3 separate regions of the Homo sapiens genome follow, and regions 1 and 3 are each linked to region 2. Evidence: promoter capture Hi-C in 16 types of primary human blood cells and fetal thymus (Javierre and others, 2016). All regions are on one chromosome and are shown on one strand. The core of a region is centred on a gene start or on the middle of the fragment in contact, and the rest is flanking DNA. Distances in the headings are between cores, read along the strand shown.

Region 1 (4,904 bases), core at 1,294-3,793, 380 kb before region 2:
CCACCAAGATATTGCTCCCTTCTGAGGTTCTTTCTGGGCTTCTTACCAGGCTTCCTTGAATGTGTCTTGTCTGGCTCTCTAACTTCAAGAATATAAAGATGATTTTTTTTTAAAGCAACATGTAGTTAGAGATTATTTTGAAAATCTTGATTAAAGAACACAAATCTTACAAGGAGTATTACAATAACACCATTCTAGGAATATAAGATTAAAACCATCACTAAAATCATCCTGCTTAAAAAATTTTGTTACATTTAAATAAATATTTACATTTGTTAATATTAAAAAATATCCTTAAGAAATTAAAAACCTTGAAGAAACACTTCAAAAATGCAAATTTATTTTCAGATACTTATTACTCATAATTCCTATAAGTGGTTTAAATGTTTTGTTATGAAAAATTGTTGCTTGTTTTTCCTTTTCCTTTTTCTTTTTTAAAAACAAGTTTCAGGCTGGGCACGGTGGCTCACGCCAGCACGGTGGCTCATGCCAGCATGTTAGAAGGCTGAGGTGGGAGGATCACTTGAGCCCAGAAATTCAAGACCAGGCTAGGCAACATAGGGAGACCCCATCTCTACAAAAAATTAAAAAATTAGCCAGGCATGGTGGCACACATCTGTGGTCCTAGCTACTTGGGAGGCTGAGGTGGTAGAATTGCTTGAGTTTGGGAGGTCAAGGGTGAAGTTAGCCATGATTGTGCCACTGCACTCCAGCCTGGGTGATAGAGCAAGATCCTATCTCAGAAAATTAAATACATAAATAAATAAATAAATAAAAAGTTTGAAAAATCAAGCATTTGTTTCTTTTTAAACATCTTTCTTAGACCTCAGGTTAATGCCTATAAATGTCTACAACCAAACAATTTTAATTTGAAGGCAAATGGCTTGAGGTCCTTGTAAGGTAGCATTTTCTTAGATTATACAATAAATTTTCCTCAATGACTTTTCCACTTACTGTAGTTAGAGGATTATAGACACATTACTTTTTATGACACTAGTGATAAATACATTTAACAGGTTATACCAACCCAAGTTTTCCTTTAGGCAAAAAGATATTTTCTCATTATTACAATTTTAATGAAACCAGTTTTTAAAATACTCACTAAATGTGAACCATGTTTGTTGCAGTTCAAAGTACATGCTTATGTTAGTCTGAATCCCGATGTCATAGATAGTTAATACAGAACTTGGGCGTTCCTGAAGATTGGTGTACTGCTGGTAACAGTGCCATATTCCTTGAAAAAGAAAGAAAAACAGAATAATATAAAATATGATTTTCTGAAATAGGAGCTATATGTGCTCATCATACATATCTATATGAAACTGATCAGCATGGTAATTTCTGCAAAGGCAAGACACATATTTACACAGCAAATATTTTATTTGGATCCAATAGTCTAAACATGCTACTGTATTTGATATAAATGTTTTCAGTATTTGTCTTGATAATTATGGCAACATCTGGCTTTAAATGTCCTTTTGACTAGAAATGACCTTAATGTCCATCAGTAAGACATCATGATATATTTGTTCAGTAGAAAGATGCGTCAAAAACTCCTCCTAAGGTTTATACCTAATACGAATTTATGATTATCCATTTATTTATTTATCCTTGCAATTCTATGATTTTTGAGGTTATTTTAATAGATGTAACAAGTTTAGGGTTGGCATATTTTTAGTGAACTAAATCATTTTTATCCATAACATTGTCATTCTAAAATCTGTTTTGTCTGATATTATGTCTTCTTCCACTTTCTTTTGTTATTGATTGCTAGTATATTCTTTCCATCCCTTCACTTGCAAATGTTCTGTTTCCTTACATGTTGTATAACTTTTATAAATAATTTATAGCTCCAATTTGTATGTGTATATTTTAATCTGACCTGACAATCTCTGTATTCTAATTGGTGAGTTTAACATATTTATACTTTATATACTGATATATTTATATTTGTTTCTATGTTCTTAATTTTGCTTTTCGTATTCTACTTTGTGTCTATACTTCTTTTCTTCCAATTCTTGTCTTTTAAAAATTGATGATTTTTTGTTTGTTTACTTATATTCCATTTTTCTTCTCTACTCTTTTTGAGCAATCTACTCTATTTTTATAATAGATTACCTTGAAAATCTGTTCTTTTTTTAATAAGCCTAGAGTCAATATGTTAACAAGGAAATACAAGACCTTAGTTACTCAATAATCACCCACTCTAATTATTGCTCAATAATTTTGTTATGTACATTTTAAATAAATTAGTTAGCATGTAGGTAAAGCTAAACAAATTTTGCCTGCATAAAATAATAATTTTAGTGTCCAATGTCTAAAGCAATTATTATTTTATGCAGGCAAAGTTTGTTTAGCTTTACCTAAAAGCTTACTAATTTATATTCTTTGCTCACTATGTTTTCTTTTTTTTATTTTTTATTTTTGTATTACATCTCATATATTTCTGTGGAATCATTCTCCTTCTTCTGTCTCTCATAGCTGCATTCAATCCATCAGGAAATACAGCTATTATACAAATAAAAGCATGTATGGCCACCCTCAAGAGTTTCTCTCATTTGGCATATAAATTTCTGCAATCATCTCCTTACTGGTCTCGTTGCTTCCACTCTTGCCTCACCATGGTCTATTCTCAACACAGGGACTAGGGCAATCATTATATCTCATCTCTTTGCTACCCAAAGCCCTACATTGCCTCCCTGTTTCATTCAGAGTAAAAGCTTAGGTTTTATAATAATCTGTAAGGCTCTGCCCCCTTCATAAATTCTATGACCTCATCTCCTACTATTTTTTCCTTTACTCAGTACACCCATCCACACCAAGCTCTCAGCCACTTCTTCAACACACTCTTATGTTATAAGGCCTTTGCTCCAGCTGTACCCACTGTCTGGAACTTTTCCTTCATCTTAACTGTCTAACTCCATTGCTTCCAAGTGTTTTCTTAGATATTTTCCCCAAAAGAGCCCTCCTGCTAATACTGCCATTTTCACTCCTTGCCCTACCATGGCATTCTCAATCTCCCCTTACCTGCTCTACCTTTTCTTTTTTCCATAGCAATAACCACCTTCTAAGATATATATTACTTAGGCTATGAGCATCATGAGAGTAAGAACCTTAGTCTGTTCCTTTACTGTTGTACATCAAGAGTCTAAAATAGTGTCTGTACACAGCAGCTGTTCAATTGATATTTGTTGAATAAACAGAATAATGTATGACTAGATGTGGATTTCTCTTCCTTTACTCTCCTTAGTATAATGAGGGCTTCCTATATCTATGGATCCATGGTTTCATCGGTTCTAGAAAATTCTCAGCCAAGAGCTTTCAAATATGGTTGATATATGTTAGGCCTTTCTCAACCTATTTTCTATTTCTTTGAACCACACAATCATATTTTTGTCCCCTTGTTACATTCTGCTATATTTTTGGTAATTACTTCAGATTCATATTTCAGTTCATTAATTCTCTATTTTGCTGTTTAGCTTATCAATTAGTTTTTAATCTAACATTTTTATTTTGAAAAGTTCTATATGGCTCTTCTTCATGTATGCCTGGACGTTTTTGTTGATTTTTATTTTTGTTGCCCAAGCCTTTAATAAATGATACTCCATGTCCATGAATGAATGAATTCACTTTTTTTTTTTTGAGACAGAGTCTCGCTCTGTCACCCAGGCTGGAGTGCAGTGGCACAATCTCAGCTCACTGCAACCTCCGCCTCCTGAGTTCAAGCAATTCTCGTGCCTCAGCCTCCCGAGTAGCTGGGACTACAGGTGTGTGCTACCATGCCCAGCTAATTTTTATATTTTTTTTAGCAGAGACGGGGTTTCACCATGTTGGCCAGGATGGTCTCAATCTCTTGACCTTGCGATCCACCTGCCTTAGCTTCCCAAAGTGCTGGGATTACAGGTGTGAGCCACTGTACCTGGCTGTGATTCTATCTTTAATTCTTTAAACCTTTCATGCATGGTTATTTCATGTTCTATATCTTTCTTTCTTGATTTGTTTTTGTCTTTTGAGACAGAGTCTTATTCTGTTGCCCAGGCTGGAGTGCAGTGGCATGATCTCGGTTCACTGCAACCTCCTCCTCCCAGATTCAAGCAATTCTCCCACCTCAGTCTCCCAAGTAGCTGGGACTACAGGTATGCACCATCATGCCCAGCTAATTTTTGTATTTTTAGTAGAGACAGGGTTTCACCACGTTAGCCAGGTTGGCCTCCCACTCCTCACCTCAAGTGATTGGCCGCCTCGGCCTCCCACAGTGCTAGGATTATAGGAGTGAGCCACTGCAGCCAGCTACATGTTCTATATCTATTAATTCCCATATTTGAATTCTTGGAGACCTCAATCTCATGTTTATAGTATCCACTGATTTTCACACAGAACTGTTTTCTTGCAGGTCAGGTAGTCTCGGACTTTATTGATCTGAATCTGTGAAAACCTGGTGATGTTAATTGAGGAAACTTTCATCTAGAGGAGATTTACATTTGTTTATTTTGGCAGTCAAAGGGTACTAACAAACTGGGGTCATTTTAGACATTTCTAGGATGCCAGACTTACTCCAGGAGTTTCAGGTATGATCCCCTGTTCTGCTGCCAACTCAGGTCTAAGTCTCCCGATCCCAGCACTGCTATGGGTTACCCAGTGCTTCCTGCTTGGTTCCCCGCTTTGATTTTAGCTCATGAGTTATTTTTTTCATTTGGAGGAGATTTCCTTTATTTCCTAAAGTTTATCAAAACAATGTATTATATAAAACAATACAGCGCAATCCTCTTTTTAATGTCACGATTTCATAGCAAGAAGGCCCTTCAGACAGTTTACTTTCCTCCTACTAGTGAATGTGAAAGTCTAGACAATATTTTCCAATTTCTCTTTCTTTGCTTTCTCTCTCTTGTCCTAGATTTTTAAAA
Region 2 (4,495 bases), core at 1,539-4,038:
GGGGTATGTGTGTGTGTGTGTGTGTGTTGTGTGTGTACACAATGGAGTATTATTCAGCCACCAGAAGAAGAAAATTTTTAAAGAGTTATTGCAAAAGATTCCTTACTAGTCTTCTAGTTTCTCATTACCCCTACATATTGGCTCGATATTCTCAACACAGTCGCCGTAGCAATTATTTTAAAATGTAAGTCAGATCATATTTTTCCTCTGTTCAAAATCTGAACTGGTGCCACATTTCCCCAGAGTAAAAACCAAAGTCTTAAAACTTTCTAAAAAGTTTAATATAATTTAGTCTTCCCTCATCTTTCTGACTTCATTTTCTATTTCTATCCCCCTTACTAATTCCACTTGGTCTTCTTTCTGTTAGTCAAACATACCAGGTATATTTTCACTGTAGGGTCTTTGCTCTGGCTTTTCCTTCCTTCTGGAAGTCTCCTCCCCTTCCACTGCTTCATGTCCTTCAATATTACCTCGTCAATTGGTCCTACCCTAACCACCCTATTAATACTTGCAGCTGGCCCACCATCATCCCATGATTAGCAATCCAAATCCCCCTTACTATGCTCATTTTTTTTTCTTTCTGTCATGGCACTTTTCAATTTTTAATATCAACAATGTATTCATGCTTATTATTCATTGTTTGTCTTCCCTATGTATAGTGTAAACCTCATGAAGAATTCATTTTGTTCCCTGATTTATCCCAAGCATGCTTAGAATAGTGCCCAGTACATAGTAAGCGATTGATTAACACTTATTGAATGAATAGAGAACTACATGAACGAATAAAATAGATTAATATCCTACTCTCAAGTAGAAGAGACGGCAACCTTCCTTTCTTAAATCCTCTTTCTCAGTCTCCTATTTATACCTCAAAGGACTAACTGGGCTGGGAGGAGGAAGGGATTCTTTGGTAAGGAGGAATAGATAAATACAGCTGGAAAGGTTTTTATTTGAATATTTTAGGGTTTCATTTCTTTGGGTTTTTTCTTTTTTAATTGGCAAGTAAAAATTTATATATTTATGGTGTGAAACCTGATGTTTTGATATATATACACATTGTGGAATGGCTAAATCAAGCTATTTAACATATTCATTACCTTACATTCTTATTTTTGATGGTGAGAATAAAAGATTGTAGATTTTAAGAAACTTTCTATCTTCTTAGTTTGGAGGACTGTGAAATCTTGTGCTGTTGGGAGATTTTAGGGCTTTTGTATTCTCTTTATCACTCTGATTTTTGGTTCGGTAGTGCTTCAATTTGGAAAGTATCTTCTAAACTAAATGAACTAGAGGAGCCAGGAATCAGTACTCAAAAAAGCAGAGGAGAAAGCAAGCTGCTACAAGAAACTCAAGGGAAACAAGAAAAGAGAACTTCAGGGTTTCAGCCCAATTCACTAAATAGGAAAGAGGGCTAAGATTCAAGATCAGTGTTGGAACTAGTAACAAATATTACATTTCATGATAGAGGTGCAAAAATAATGAACCACAGGTATATTCATGATCTAATGTTATGTAACCTATTACCCCCAAATTTTAGTGGTTTAAGACAAGAGTAAGCATTTATTATATCTTATGGTTTCTGTGATTCAGGAATCCAGAAGCAGCTTGATTGGATAGCTCTGGGTCGGGGCTATCATGAAATTCAGTCAGATGTTGGCTGAAGCTACAGTCATCTGAAGGCTTGACTTGGTTGCAGGGTCTGTTCCCAAGATAGATCACTCACATAACTAGCAAGTTGTTGCTATTAGCAGGAGGCCTCAGTTCTTCCCACACAGAGCTAAGATTCAAGACTTCTATGCAAGTCAAGAAATACACACACACACACACACACACACACACACACACACACATAGTGAAGTCTGAATATAAATTAGGAACTGAGCTCTTCTTCTCTCTCCATAGGTATATACATATACATACATATACCTATATACACATAGATATCCTGGAGAATTATTTAGAGAGAGCAATATTTCTACATCAGCTCCCTAGGCCAAGTAAGGTGACCCAATGGACTTCACTTTTCTAAAAAGTGCAGTTATACTTATGTATCTTCTCTTACTATTCATCAAAATACCGACAATATTTTGGGCTGAAATGTTAATAATATCTGTATGAACCTCTGCTTCAAAAAATAATCCAAGGGATCCTTGAGTATTTTTAAAACATGGCATCTGGTTTCCCCAAAATGAGCAACATAAGAAAGCAAAGAATACAAAAGAACAAGGCAGAAGCCATAGTGTATGTCTTTATGATGTAGTTTTCTGCTGTACAGTACTGATCACATGGTCAGCTGTGATTCATTTTGGAAGGGGAGTATGAACAGGTGTGAATACCAGTAGGTAAGGATTCCTAGAGATGTTATCAACATCTCAGCCCGAAATATTGTCGATATTTTGGTGAATATTAAGAGAAGATACATAAGTGTAACTGGACTTTTTAGAAAAGTGAAGTCCATTGGGTCACCTTACTTGGCCTAGGGAGCTGATGTAAAAATACTACTCTCTTTAAATAATCCCCCAGGATATCTATATATATACACACACACACACGGAGAGGAAGTGCTCAGTTCCTAATTTATATTCAGACTTCACTATATATATGTGTGTGTGTGTGTGTATTTCTTGAGTTGTATAGAATACGTACTTATGAATAACAAACTTGACCAATTTTCCTACAGACATAGACTTCTTGCATTTAGCAGTATCACTCACCTCTTACTCCATCATTTCTTCAATAACTCCATCAACACTGAACCTTCTAACTCTAACATGCTACGATTCACTACTGTGAAAAAAAAGCTGATGTCATAAACACATTGTGTTCCAGTATCACTAAGGGCCATACCCCATTCTTAGGTAATCCCTGAGGTCCTACTAGCCTTGCTAGCCTCAAAGGAGTCACTTGGAGTATAAAGAGGGGGAGGAGACTGAACAAAGTCCTGGAGCTATAGTATATTTTTTCATTGTTAATCCTTGGCAAAGAAGTAGGTAGTTTGGAGGTGGAAGTAGGCCATGATTACCTTTAAAATAATCTACTATTATTTGTGTCTTTCCTGAATATCATAGCACCTTCTTGTCACAAATGCTTAGGGGAAAGAAAATCATCCAATATACCCCATATCCCACTTACCAACATCTCTACAGTAAAATGAGACCCAAGAGCATGATTTCCTTAACTAGCTATCAAGCAACTACCTCCAACAAACAGCAGTTATCATTAATATGTTCATGCTATTTTCATTTGTGAGGTCTGTAATCCATCAGAACAACCTGACAGTGATTAAGTAAAATCAAAGAGACTTTGTAAACATCTGTGTGCTTTTATTGTTACAAATGCTTCATTATAAAAAGATCAGTCAAAAGCATAAAAGTACCCTGGTTTAAACTTTTTCTGTGTTTGAATGAGAATGTTTCTCTTGGAACATGCTCATATCAGGCTTCCACTTGGCAAAATCACGAATTGGCTGATGTTGTTTTAGAGGCTTTCTCATGTCCCCTTCCAAACATCACTCTTCTCCTTCTGTGGACCCCTTTCTGTTATCTAGGAGCCCCTCATGCTGCCTTCCACATTCTGCCTACTGCACAGTCATGTTCTGGACCCCTCAGAATCCCCCTCTACCATTACAATATGTTTTTCCTAAGACTTACTTGCATTGAAAGGCTTGCCAGGGAAGTGACTAATCTTATCATCTTGTACTAAATGTTAAATTAATCCTCATTCTCTCTAGAATTGTTTTCTAAGCAGGGATTCCTAGAGATGCTATCAATATCTCAGCCTGAAATTGCATAGGTATTCTGGTGAATAGCAAGAGAAAATAACGTGAGTATAACTGGACCTTTTAGAAAAGTGAAGTCTATTAGGTCACCTTAGTTGGCCTAGGGAGTTGATGTAGGAATGCTCCTCTCCCTGAAATAATCTTCCAGGAGAGGAATGTATCCCCAAATAGCAAGTGAATATCCAATGGCTTCTCATTGCACTTAAACTCTATATTCCTTTTTATGACCAAAAAGGCCTGGCTTCTCCCTAACTGTCTCTTCCTTACACATTACACCTCTTCCTTTTGTATGTGAATGTGCCAAGCTACCACCTCATTTCTACCTTAAGGCCTGAAGTGTTATGTTCCAGTTCTTGGCATGCAAATTACTCTTCATCACTTGTTTCCCGACACAAATGCCACCTTTCCAGACAATCTAAAGTAACCTCAAAATCATTTGCTCGCACATCACTTTGTTTTATTTCTCCTGGTATTAATCACTATGTGAAATTTTCTGGTTCATATTATTTGTCACCTGCTTCTTCCAGGCCTCCTCTTACTTCATTGTCTATCATGTTCATTACCGTATCCCTAGTGTTTTGCACAGAATCTGGTACATATTCAGTGCTCAATAAATATGTGCTAAATGAATAAATGAATAAATTAACCTAAACATAAGTTTTACACTTAAGTAATTGAGCAAGAAGTCTTTGTTGTACTAATATTGGAAAAGGCAGG
Region 3 (4,827 bases), core at 598-3,097, 370 kb before region 2:
TCCACCCATCTCAGCCTCCCAAAGTGCTAGGATTACAGGTGTAAGCCACTGAACCTGGTCTAAATCAATTTTCTAGTCTTATTGTAAAAAATGAAATTTCATGTACTAGTTACCAATCTCTATTCTTTGCTCTTTGATATTGATGTTATGTTAAAACAAGATACCATACAGTGATAGACTTATTTTTAATTTTTGATTTTGAGATAATTGTAAATCAACATGTAGTTGTGAGGAATAATAGGGATTTCACATACCTTTCACTCTGTTTTCCTCAATGGTAAGAACTTTCATAACCATAACACAATATCATAAGCAGGAAATTAATATTGTTACTGGTATAGTTTGGTTATTTGTCCCCACATACCTCATGTTGAAATTTGATCCCCAGTGTTGGAGATGGGGCCTAATGGGAGGTGTTTGGGTTCATAGATGCAGCAGCACCCTGTTCTTATAGTTCAGGGAAGCATCTGTCCTGTTAATGGGGTGTTCATGAGGGCAGATCCTCCTTGTTCTTGTGATGATGAGTAGCTTCTTAATCTATTAATTCCCTCAAGAGTTGGTTGTTAGAAAGAGCCTGGCACCTCCCTCATCCTCTCTCTTGCTTCCTCACTAGCCATGTAATTTCTGCACATGCCAGCTCCTCTTTGCCTTCTGGTATGAGTGGAAAGCAGAAAGCTGAAGCCCTCAACAGAAGCAATGCTGGCTCCATGTTTCTTGTACAGCCTGCAGAACCATAAGCAAACAAACCTCTTTTCTTTATAAATTACCCAGCGTCAGGTATTCCTTTTGTAGCAACACTAAGCAGAGTAAGACAGTTAGAAGACACTAACCTTACTCAGAGCTCACCCGTTTTATATTCACTTGTTTCTGTGTGCCTGTGTATGTGCGTAGTTCTATGCCATTTTATCAGACATGTGGTTGTGTGATCACTACCACAGGACAGAGATGGACTTTTAATAAAACACTTTATGATTTTACAGTATAATTTAAGATTAATATTGCTTGTGTAGTCAATGCATATTCAGGGTTAAAATCTTCCTTCCTTTCCTAAATATGAATAAAATGATGATTTAAAATTCTCTGAATATTGAACACCTATGACACTAATAATTATTAGTGCCCGTGAATTCTCAAACACAATTCTCAAAATGTAACTGGGGTTTTATCACCATAAGAAACTAACAAATCAAGGCTATTTGGCACAATCAATCATCATTATGGTCTTTTACCAATACCATCTAAATGTGGACAGAGAGGTCATCTTTGCAATTATTTTACATTAATAAACTTTGGGGGCCTATCAGTGCCAAGCCAGATCACCATGCTACTTCACGAAGCCACCACAGAGTGACTGAAATCCAATTAGTAACTCCACAGAGGGAAGGCAGAATCAGAGGAGATACACTATTGGTTTTGCTTTTTTTTACAATAAAAAACAAAAGTCAGATGAAGCCATGTGAGCTGCAGCTAACCCTTTCAAGTCTCTCCATCACCTTTAGTTCCTTCTTCTGAAATCTTTCTCAGCCCTGACTTGCTCCATCTCCCTACTCTGGTAATTATTCTCATTGGCCAAATTGTAGCTCAACTCATTGGCAGTTAGGTAAAAACACTGCTGCTTAGCTGACATCTCCTTTCCATCTTTTGGGTTATGTACCTGCTGTACACAAAGGCATTTGGTGTGGACCCTACAGCTAAGTTAGCAGGAGAATAACAAAATGTATAGGCCTCTCTCACAGTTAATATTTTCTTGAAGCAATAGCAGTTCAATTCCCTCTAGAAATTTTGGCAGGGCAAACAACTCATCTCCACATCCACACCTCCACATGTATTTCCTCTTTCTTAGTCTCTCATCCACACGTGTGCATGCACACACACAATGACATTTGCATATTCATGTACCTTCAGAGAAAATATTAGTGGCTTCATAGGTATCTTTCTAAGAAAGCTGAAGAACAATTTAGGGACATTCACAGCATGCAACACACCCACATCTTTTAGAAGGTTAAGATGATTATCAATGCAAATGTCAAAAGTTCATTCTGATTGGAGCCAAGCTGAATAAACCATTAACATATTAGGAGATACTTGACAGACATTTAGACTTCAACAATTGACTCATGTAACTTTGAAAGACAACTGAACTACTTCTATTGAATACACTTAAATGGATTTATAAGTGAGTACTGAAAGAACTAATGCTTTCACAGGCTTTAAATGATGGTAGGTACTTCTGAATTGAGACCATGATGATTCTGTATTTATAAAGCACACACAAACAATGTATACTACACATAGAAAAGTGCTGTGTATGCAACACATAAAAGAAAGTAATTAAAATAGTAAAACGTAGTTTGTTAAGGAGAATCACATCAAATCTCATTCTAGACACAAATGAGCTGTTAAAAAACAATACAACTGCACTTTACTTTCTCCCTCTATCAGACCAATTTGTTCACTTCAAATAGGGTGCAGATTAGTAGTAATCAACATATAATTAGCCAAAATGAAGGTCACATTGAGATTGGATGTTCTAATTGATCACAGTCTGTCCTTTAAGTGCTTGTGACACATGTCTGGACCATGCCAGCAGTTAACAAAAACATCGTGCATAGAAATATGGCTCAGATCAGTAGATGCACCGTCTGGAAGACTAAATGCAAGTCTTCATTATTAGCAGTCAATAATGACTCAGCTAATAAGAGCTAATTCTGACTCAGTTCTGATTCTCTGTGCACCACAAAGGGCACTTTGCATAAAGCTCTGTATTACCATTTCTATCTTTAATTCAGATAGTCTTAACACTCAGTTACAAATTGGAATTTGGTGGCTGGGAGAGTGAATTACATTGAAGGTTAAAACACCACATTTGTTATGAAGAAAAGATGATCTAGTAACTCATTTATGAAACAAGAAAAAAGCATAATATGCAAGTATATTTTGTTTTATCATAGGAATGATAGATTTGTAGAGTACAGTGGAAAAATTCTTAACTAGAAGTAGGAAGATATTCATTCTCTCATTCATTCAGTCATTTGTTCATTCATTTAATAAATATTTACTGATCCCCTACTCTGAGCCTGTTCCAGGCACTGAGGACAGAAATAGTAGTGAACAACACATAAAAATCCTTGCCCTCAAGCAATTTGTCTTCCAGTAGTGGTAGTGGGAGACATATAAGAAATAATAAATAAGTAAAATGTTTGTCATAAGATGGTAATAAATAGTAGTAAATAAGATGGTATAAGATGATAAATAAATAAGGCTGGAAAGGAGGCTACAGAGAGAGAAAGGAGTGGCTGCGTGGGATTCTAATTTTGAAGAGGTAGTCAAAGAAGCCTCACTAAGAAGGTAACATTTGCAGAAATTCTTGGACAGGATGAGCAATCAAGACATACAGTCATCTGGAAAAATAATTCTCTAGGTAGGGAGAACAGCAAAGTCTAAGTCTCTAAGGCAGGAGAGTTCCTGGATCCTTTCAAGTATTAGTACAACAAATGGCCAGTGTGACCCAAGTGTAGTGAGAAAAGGGAGTAGAATAGGATATGTGGTCAGAGAGTGGGTCAGACAGTGAAGGATCTTACAGGTCATTGTTAGGACCTTGGCTTTTCATATAAGTAACTTGGGAAGCTATTGGGGCATTTAAGCAAAGAAGAGACATAATCAGACTTATATTTAACAGGACCACACTGGTTACTGGGTGGAAAAGAGACTGCAAAGGATAAGGGGGCAAGGACAGAAACAGAAAGACCAGTCAGGAGATCCTTGAACTAATCTAAAAAAGAGGTGATGGCTCCTTGAACTAGGGAAGAGGTGGTGAGAAATAGTTTGGCTCAGGGTACATTTTGGAGGGAGACCTAAGGAGAGCTCAAACATGGGTATGAGAGAGAGAGAAATCAAGGATAAGGTAGAAATCAAGGTATTTGGAGCTGGCATTAATTGAGACAGGGAATACATTGGGGTGGGGAACAATTTTAGGGATAAAGTCAGAGATTAGGAATTCAGTTGTGGACATGTTAAATTTGAGATGCCAACCAAATATTCATGTAGAAATATCACATGGGTGGTTGGATAGAAAGGTCTGGAACTCAAGGAGCAGATTTATTTGGAGATGTAAATTTGAGAAGTCAGCAAGTAGATGGTGTTAAACCCAATGGACTAGGTGAGATCATCAAAAAAGTAAATACAGACTTAGAAAAGGACCAAGCTTCTTGTGGGAGGGAAATGCAGTGTTTAAAAGATGTTAGAAAGATTAAGATAACTCATCAAAGGAGACTGATAGGGAGTAGACAGAGAGTTGGGAGGAAATATAGAAGAATGTTGTGCCCTGGAAGCCAGGTGAAAAAGGTATTTTAAGGAGGTGGGATTGATTAAATACTGTTGTTAGATCAAGTAAATGTGGATTTAATACTAACCATTAGCTTAATAATGTTGAGGTCGATGGTATTGTTTAGGGGAAATTGAAGTAGGGATAAAAGCTTGGATGAGAGTGAGAGGAAAGGATTTAGATAGATAAATGTGGACTATTCTTTTGAGGAGTTTTGAAAAAAAATAAAAGAGGCACAGAGATATGGACCAGTAGCTGGAGGGGGATGTGGGATCAAGGGAAAAATTTTTTAAGATTAAAGAAATAACAGTAGTGAACAAAACAGATAAAAATCCTTGTCCTTAAGCAATTTGTCTTCTAGTAGGGTGAGACAGGAACCAAATGACAGATAAGTAAAATGTTTGTTGTAAGATGGTAATAAGTGGTAATGAATAAGATGGTATAAGATGGTAAGTAAAAAAGGATAGAAAGGATACTAGAGACAGAGAGGAATGGCTGGGTGG

Evidence for each region. The method cuts DNA at HindIII sites, captures the fragments that hold promoters and counts their contacts. A CHiCAGO score of 5 or more calls a contact.
Region 1: a contact is called between a fragment that was not itself captured here and the fragment with the promoter of SLC44A5 in region 2, in 2 of 17 cell types (endothelial precursors and M1 macrophages). The highest score is 7.8, in endothelial precursors.
Region 3: a contact is called between a fragment that was not itself captured here and the fragment with the promoter of SLC44A5 in region 2, in 1 of 17 cell types (M1 macrophages). The highest score is 5.1, in M1 macrophages.

What each region holds. Positions count from the first base shown.
Region 1 is chr1:75,226,624-75,231,527 of GRCh38, forward strand. SLC44A5 (solute carrier family 44 member 5) reads right to left here. Exons shown (of 24, transcript NM_001130058.2): 13 at 1,103-1,234. Among named protein-coding and RNA genes, the nearest start is that of LHX8, 95 kb to the left of the region's middle. The HindIII fragment of the contact is 350 bases long and covers 2,369-2,718 here.
Region 2 is chr1:75,608,326-75,612,820 of GRCh38, forward strand. It overlaps SLC44A5 (solute carrier family 44 member 5), which reads right to left and starts at 2,789. Exons shown (of 24, transcript NM_001130058.2): 1 at 2,715-2,789. The HindIII fragment of the contact is 10,824 bases long and covers 1-4,495 here.
Region 3 is chr1:75,243,377-75,248,203 of GRCh38, forward strand. All of the region lies in intron 7 of SLC44A5 (solute carrier family 44 member 5), which reads right to left. Among named protein-coding and RNA genes, the nearest start is that of LHX8, 110 kb to the left of the region's middle. The HindIII fragment of the contact is 4,710 bases long and covers 1-4,202 here.